Regions from separate parts of the Homo sapiens genome. Here region 2 is linked to region 1. Evidence: promoter capture Hi-C in human tissues and cell types (Jung and others, 2019). All regions are on one chromosome and are shown on one strand. The core of a region is centred on a gene start or on the middle of the fragment in contact, and the rest is flanking DNA. Distances in the headings are between cores, read along the strand shown. Region 1 holds the start of SLAMF8 (SLAM family member 8). Region 2 overlaps CFAP45 (cilia and flagella associated protein 45).

The links. The method cuts DNA at HindIII sites, captures the fragments that hold promoters and counts their contacts. A contact is called where the count stands out against the background at its distance.
Region 2: a contact is called between a fragment that was not itself captured here and the fragment with the promoter of SLAMF8 in region 1, in 18 of the 25 tissues and cell types used here (H1 embryonic stem cells, IMR-90 fibroblasts, adrenal gland and 15 more).

What each region holds. Positions count from the first base shown.
Region 1 is chr1:159,825,386-159,829,287 of GRCh38, forward strand. SLAMF8 (SLAM family member 8) reads left to right here and starts at 1,488. Exons shown (of 5, transcript NM_020125.3): 1 at 1,488-1,553. The coding sequence starts at 1,514. The HindIII fragment of the contact is 29,109 bases long and covers 1-3,902 here.
Region 2 is chr1:159,890,867-159,894,875 of GRCh38, forward strand. It overlaps CFAP45 (cilia and flagella associated protein 45), which reads right to left. Exons shown (of 12, transcript NM_012337.3): 2 at 2,314-2,439. It overlaps LOC124904434 (a long non-coding RNA gene), which reads left to right. Exons shown (of 3, transcript XR_007066678.1): 2 at 1,481-1,635; 3 at 2,279-2,360. Among named protein-coding and RNA genes, the nearest start is that of MIR4259, 7.2 kb to the right of the region's middle. The HindIII fragment of the contact is 4,491 bases long and covers 1-3,509 here.

The sequences.
Region 1 (3,902 bases), core at 238-2,737:
CCCAACCTCTGGCTCTCTCCTTTCCTCATATTATCTAAACCATGCCCATCTTCAAGGCACAGCTCAAATTCCACCTTCTCAAGAAGCGTCCCCTGCCCAGATCCGCGAAGCCCTCTTTCCCACCCACTTCTGAGGACTGACTACCTGTTTGCACAAAGTGGTGTCTGTCTGCAGATAACCCTTCACTTTCCTTGGTGTACCTATCTCTACATTTTGGTTGTGAGTACCTGGAGGGCAAAAACCTTATCCCAAAATCCTCCTGCTCACCACCCACCCCCACCCCATCCTATATGCCTAGTTCCTGGCTGAGTCCAAAGCTCAGTGTCCAGTTTGATTGACAGGCGAGAGGCTGTGCAGGACCAGATACGATGAGCCACACTCCAGACTAGCAGGAATTTTCCTCAGGGGCAACACGTCCTCTAAAAACCTTCACTGGCAAGAAACCAAGAAACTTGAAGTGAGAAGAGAAACAGGATGAGGAGGGGATAACTGTGGCAAAATAGACCACACTTCAAAGGCTGAGGTTCAAGTTCCAGCTCTGCCTCTCTGTGAGCTCTGCAAGGGGCCTAACCTCACTCTGGTTTTCACATTTTCCCATTTCTAACCAGGTAACAAGATGATCCTCTCAGAGGAGAGTTGCAAGGCTTACATAAAGCCAGATGTGTAGCCATGTCTAGAATGTACTCACTCACTTAACAAATACTCATGAAACATCTGTAATGTGCCAAGCACTGAGGGCAACACAGAAGGGAACAAAAGACTGGCTAAACAGTCTGTGAAAACCAGAAAACTGTCATCAACAACACAGCAAGAGTAAAGAGGGAGGTGTGGGCATGCACAGGACACAAGGAGAGGGCCTCTCACCTGCCTGTGGTCAGGAAGCCTGGAAGGATGTCCTCGCCGACTGCACAGCCATGTTCTGTTTGCAAGGATAGAGGGAGCAGCATGCCTAGTCGGGGTGGTGGGGAAAGTACAACACAGGGAAGTGTGAAATCAGTAGTTCTGAGAAGGAGGCCTTCTGGCTTGGGATGGCTGGAGGGCAGAATGACTGTGGGCGACCAGCCTGGAGAAGAAGGCCTGACTCAGGAGGGCCTGCATGCAGAGCAGAGTTAGTCCTCATCCTCAGGTCCACGGGAGGCCACAGAAGCATTTTAAGCTAGAATGAGGATGACAGATAGTAGTGAGGCAGGCTGAGATGCAGGAAGGCCAGCGAGATCCAGCAAGGAGGATGTGGCTTGTGTGGGGGCTGTTGTCGCCACGTGTTAGCCAACCATGTGCATGTGAAAGAGGCTGACTTACAAGAATCTGCTCCTGTAAGCCCAGAGAGGCCCAGGGACAACTTCCACTTTATTCTGGATGTTTTCACTTTTGGGACATCCTGTTCTGAGTCAAGATTCCTCCTTCTGAACATGGGACTTTCCAGAAGGACCACAGCTCCTCCCGTGCATCCACTCGGCCTGGGAGGTTCTGGATTTTGGCTGTCGAGGGAGTTTGCCTGCCTCTCCAGAGAAAGATGGTCATGAGGCCCCTGTGGAGTCTGCTTCTCTGGGAAGGTAAGTGGGGCAGGCAGATAGCCTGTCCTCGGAGAGCTGAAGGCCCCTCCCCAGCTGCCTATGCCAGACGTCTGGGCAGGGATCCCTCGACCTGGGTGAGAACCCAGAAGCTGAGGGTGGGTAGGAAAGACTAGAACAAGCTCTTGGGCAACATTTTAAGCTAGGCAGATACAAAGAGATGCAGGGTCCTGGGAGGGAGGAGGTGGCAGCTTGAGGGGTATTCTTATCTGTGAGACATGAGCTGTTTTGTGGCCCAGAGCAGTAAAAACGGAGCCAGTGGGTGATACTGCTGGTTTGGAGAGAAAGTCGGCTGTGAGAATGGTGAGGACCCGGCAGTGTTAGCATGCAGAAACTCTGCAGAGTTTGAGGAGAGTAGCAGAGGGCAGGGCAGAGCAGGGTTCCCCACAATCAGCAGAGTGTGTTTTCAACAGCCTGTGGGGGAGCTGAGGTCCCTCCCTACAGGCCTTTATAAGGGGAGGCAAGTACTAAGTAGGGATGAGAGAGGCTAAATGTGGCCCACGTGGACTTAGGGGTGGCCGACGGTGGTGTGATGTTGGGATGGCTGATACACGGGGTCTCCTCCACACCGGGCGATCCCTCTATCCATCTGATGCCTGAGTTCCCTTCCTTGGTCAACAAGCAGCCAACATGACATGGGTCAACACTGCCGGGCCATGGATGAGGGTTTATGGGGTGCAGCAAAGATTAAGATGATATTGTTTACATCAGAGGCTCATAGGGACTTTGGGTTGCTTTGTTTCATCTCCTTGCCTGAGTTCCTGGCCCTGAGAGCTCCAAAGCCTGCAGATTTCTTCAATATTTCTAAACATGTGCAGGAAATCACACCTTAACCTCAAAAAAGGCCTTGGTCTGTTTGGTGAGACAAAAATAATTTGCCTTTTTTTTTTTTCTTTGAGACGGAGTCTTGCTCTGTCACCCAGGCTGGAATGCAATGGTGCATCTCAGCTCACTGTAACCTCTGCCTCCTGGGTTCAAGCGATTCTCCTGTCTCAGCCTCCTGAGTAGCTGGGATTACAGGTCACTGCCACTAAACCCGGCTAATGTTTGTATTTTTAGTAGAGACAGGGTTTCATCATGTTGACCAGGCTGGTCTCAAACTCCTGACCTCAAGTGATCCGCCCTCCTCAGCCTCCCAAAGTGCTGGAATTACAGGCATGAGCCACCACACCCAGCCCAAAAATAATTTTTCAAATGGCCCTTAATGATCAAAGATCTGTGTGACTGACCTGGTACAGACCCCTTATTTTTCAGTGGTACTGAAGCCTGGGGCAGGGTGATGTGTGGAAGGGCACACAGCTGATCTGTGGCAGCACCAGGAGGAGCAGGTAGGAGCAGCTAGGTCTTGGCTGACATCCAGTGCAATTCTCTTTGTGTGTTACATTCCTGCTCTGCATTAACACTGAAGTCATCTCCAGTGTGAGAGGAGGTTGTTGGGCCTGGAGGACAGTGAGGCAGAGGGGGACCGGAATTATCATGGCCGACTGAGCAACCATCCAGATCATGTCTCATTGACCAAAACTTCATCACCTCTTATTCTTCCCTACACCCTGTGCCAGCGACAGGCATAGGGTCAGTCCTCAGCAGGGTAGGTCATTTATTCAATACCATTTACTAGGCTTCTCCCACAGTCTGTTCTTAAACAGTGGTGGGCACTGGAAGCAAACGATGGGGAGAAAGAGCTCACGGTCTAGTGGGAGATGCTGACTCATAAACAGGCAATAAGAATAGAGGGATAAGGGTAGTCAGCATGGTGGCCCCAGGCCACTGTGAGAACACAAGAGAGAATATGTAACCTCTCTTGGTTACATTACCTATGAGGGATAGGGGAGGTCGGAGGAGGCAGTGATGCTACAAGAGTGGGCAGAAATTAGTCAGCAAAGGAGTCAGGGGGGCACTTCAAGGAGAAGCGTCTCCCATACACGTCTGACTCAAATATAGTCCCCCAAAACAGCATCTTGCTTTCTCACCCCCTGTCTGTTTCTCCTCCTGTTCTGGATCACAGAGAATAACATCCAGTGGATCCCAAGGACCTGGGAGCCGTCCTCGACTCCTTTTTCTCCTTCACTCCCCAGAGCTAATCTATTACCAAATCCTACTGATTACACACCATCTTCGTGTTTCTCAATTCCTCCCACTTCTTCCCATCCCGGTTGCTCCCTTCCTCAATTCAAGTTGCCGTCACTTCTCCACTGGACTAACATGAACAGCCTAAGTCCTGCCCACCTCCAGTGCATTCTCCACATCCCTGCTGGAGTGATCTTTCTAACCATGCATCTAATCCTGTTACGCTCCTGCTTAAAACCTACCTGAGACGCCCCATTGCTCTAC
Region 2 (4,009 bases), core at 14-2,513, 65 kb after region 1:
TCCTCCCTCAGCCTCCTGAGTAGCTGGGATTACAGGCGACCACCACCATGCCTGGCTAATTTTTGTATTTTTAGTAGAGTCGGGGTTTCTCCATGTTGGCCAGGCTGGTCTCAATCTCCTGACCTCAGATGATCCGCCCGCCTGGGCCTCCCAAAGTGCTGGGATTACAGGCGTGAGCCACCATGCCCAGCCCTGACCAGCTTTTCTGAAAACAAGTCTCTTGTTCTTATACAGATATTCCTCGCAGAATGGTAGGGATAACAAGGAGTGGGGGTCACTAGTGTGTGTCTATACTTAGTCTAAAATCATCAGGAATTAAAGTAAATTTCTGTTCTCTAGGTTTTCCTCTCTCCATGAAAGATTTTCCTTTATGAAAGAAGAAATAATTATCTCTCTAGGACCACACAGTGGGTTTGAAGCAATATAATTTGTTACAGACTCTTACAATCTTTGATATTGGTAATTTTAAATTCTTTCTTACGATTAAATTACTTTAACCCCCACAAAAAGCCATATTCAGGGAGTTAGAAATCGCTAAATGACCTGCAGAGGCCTACCCTTAAGATCTAAGGGTAGCTCTCTGCCAGCTCATTGAGTTGGTGGTGAGGAGGTCAGTGAGTTAGAATTCAGCAAGAACACAGACTAACTGTGTGATTTTTTCTTTTTTTCAAAATTCTCCGACCCTGAAGGAGTTAGATAACAATTAAATGAAATCACCTGTTTCAGAAAATGTCTAAACACAGGAAAGGATGTGTCATTAATGCAGCCACTGTGCTCCTGACCAGAGGCAGGGGGATGGCCCCACTTGTCCTACCTCACTTTGCACCCACAGTCCCCTGTGTGCTGCTGCCACCTGGTGCCCATCTCTGCTTTCACGTGGGCACAACTCAGTCGTGCCACAGGCCACTTCTGCCCTCTACTGCCCATTGAGAGACTTCCTGAACTCTTACCCATCAATGAGGCCAAAGAAACTGGACAAGAGACAAGCATTTTTCTGATAGCCCCCTTTTGCCAGCCAGCATGACTACTCCTGGAGAACTCAGCCAATTCCAAATCTCTCTTTGCTTTGACTAGAAAACTCCACATGTACCCAAAACAACAACAACAATACAAATGTCTGTAAGTGAAATTGCATTTTGGCCAGGTGGGGAGACTTACGCCTGTAATCCCAGCACTTTGGGAGGTCGAGGTGGGCAGATTGCTTGAGCTTAGGAGTTCAAGACCAGCATGGGGAACATGATGAAACCCTGTCTTTACAAAAAATACAAAAATTAGCCAGGTGCAGTGGTGTGCACCTGTAGTCCCAGCTACTTGGGAGGCTGAGGCAGGAGAATCACTTGAGCCTGGGAAGTGGAGGTGGCAGTGAGCCGAGACTGTACCATTGCACTCCAGCTCCAGCCTGGGTGACAGGAGTGAAACCCTATCTTTAAAAAAATAATAAAAAATAAATGCATCTGTTGATCCTTTCCCTTACCAACAGGAAAACTGCTGCAGAGTGAGAGTCTTCTAAATGGATTAAGAAGCCTATCTCAATCCCTCTGGAGAGTCCTCTTCAATTCACAATGAAGATGTTGAAGAGCAGGGACAGACATCAACACTCCTCTCCCCACCTTCCCCACTGGCAGAGGCATTCAGGTCACTACTAGTGTCTCTCTTTCTCTTTTCCCCTTCTCTTAATCTCTCACTGCCCTTCTCTCCATGTCATATTCTCTTTTTCTCCTTCCCTCTCTTCCTTCTTACCTACTAAACTCCATATGTACCAAAATCAGTCAAAGCTCTACTATCTAGCTCTCTTTATCTAGACTAAAGGAGTTGTCCACCTCTTGGTCTAGATAACACTTGCAAATAAAGACCTGCTCGTTTCCCAAAGCTAAGTAATTGTTTTAGTTGAGCAACTGGGAAAGGAGGATGGTTTTGTGTTGTACTCTGATGCTATTATCCTTGGATGGAGCGGGGAAGATGTTGCTATTGTCTGCAAGCTTAGCCCATCAGCCCTGCAATGTTTCCATCATGGAGCTCAACTGAGCAACTATTGCACTCTCTGCAGCTGAGCCTCCCTTTTGACATTATAACAGATTTTAAACACTGTGAAGACATGAGAGATTCTAGGGTGGAAGAAGCTAGGTGTCCCTGTTTACATAGGCCCCACTAGATCCCAAAGCTCTGCAGCTCAGGTCTCAGAATTCCCCTTTGTCTTCAGTCTGAGAGTTACCTACGAGAGCAAGGTTACTCAGCAGAAGCTTTGCCCTGAGCTACATTTTTGGGCCTCTGCCTGCAGGTGGCATCAACTTGAAAGGACTTGTTGAGGATTACCTTGATATCTCCAAAGAGGCTCTCATCCACCTCAGAGCTCACGGCTTTGGTCCGATAGCGAGCCTTATTCCTTGACCTGTTGGAAGCGGCAGAAGAGGAGCTCAGGATGCCAGCTGTGCTTAGTGGCTGCAGGAAGAGGCAGAAAGTTTGGGTCATCAGTACTGAGTGGCATCCAGACCCTGGGAAGTCAACAATTCACCAGCCCATGCTGGGGGAGTGGGTGGGCATGTGAAAAAGAAACAGTTAGGGAAAGCGGCTGTGTAAACTCTGAACCATAGGGGACAAGGAGCAACAGATGGAGGGCATCCCCACAGAGCAGGGAAGGGTCTCTGCAAAAAAAAGAGCTCTGCATAAAGCAGCATTTGTGTAAAACAGTTGATCTCATAGAAGTACAGAGTAGAATGGTGGTTACCAGAGGCTGAAGAGAGGAAGGGGAGGGGCATGGGGAGAGGTTGGTCAGTGAGTGCGCAGTTACAGTTAGATAGGAGGAATAAGTTCTGGTGCTCTATTGCACAGAAAGGCCACTATAGTTAATAATAATGTACTGTATATCTCAAAAGAGATACACAATATCTAGGAGAGGATTTTGAGAAATATAAATGTTATAAGATTAAATGAGATGGCAAGGTCTAGTATTTGATAGCGCAATAGAATGACTAGAGTTAACAATAATGTATATTACTATATATAAATGTATATTAATATACATGTATACAATAATATATATAAATATACATGTATACAATGTATATTAATTTACATTGTATATTTCAAACTAGCTAGAAGAGAGAATTTTGAGTGATCTCACTGCAAAGAAATGACAAGTGTTTGAGGTAATGGATATGCTAACTACCCTGATTCAATCATTACACAATGTATATACATGTATCAAAACATCACACTATACCCCATAAATGTGTACAATCATTATGTGTCAATTAAAAACAAAACTGTTTTGTTTTTTGTGGGGTTTTTTTAAGAGCATTTCTGTAGTCCCTGAAGCTGAAGGCCAAGTCGGCCACATAGTATGGAAGTAAGGATAAAGGAAGCAGGAATGGCAGGAGGAGAGAAGCAACAGTTTCTCATTATCTGCCTAGTACCAGTTTCCCAAGAGGACAATCTCTTGTGGGGCAACTTGGGCTTGCCCCCTGAGACACGCACAGTGTCCCCTTTGCCTCCAATCTTTTCAGCTTGTGCTTCAAGTCTTTCTCACAAATGACGCTACTGTTTGACCTCCTTCGTGTCTCCACAATCTTACAAGGTTATGGTGGGACCACAGGATATAAAGGATGGAAAAGTGCCTCACCCACTGCTTGGCATGTGGTTGATGCCCAATAAACTTGAGGCAGTGGGTGAATGATAAATGATTACTAGCTATAATCAAGCAAACCAGTTCATAATACCCACTATTTGGCTGTTTCTCTCCCAAGACCCTTTTAGTGTGCCTTAGTCATTTTTTAACCCCCTACTAACTTCCTATTTTGGCAAATTCCCCATCTAATGAGTTGTGGGAGATAGTGCTCTTCTCCAACTACAGAAGCTGAAAACATCAAATATTCACCTCAGCCTGGCCAAGGGACCTAGGCTTAGCCAATGAGATGGCCCTGGACTGACAATGACTAGGGAACTAGTGGACCAAAAGGCAGAACAAGGAAAACCTTTCTGACCCAAACAGAACTGGCAGCCAGACCCAGCG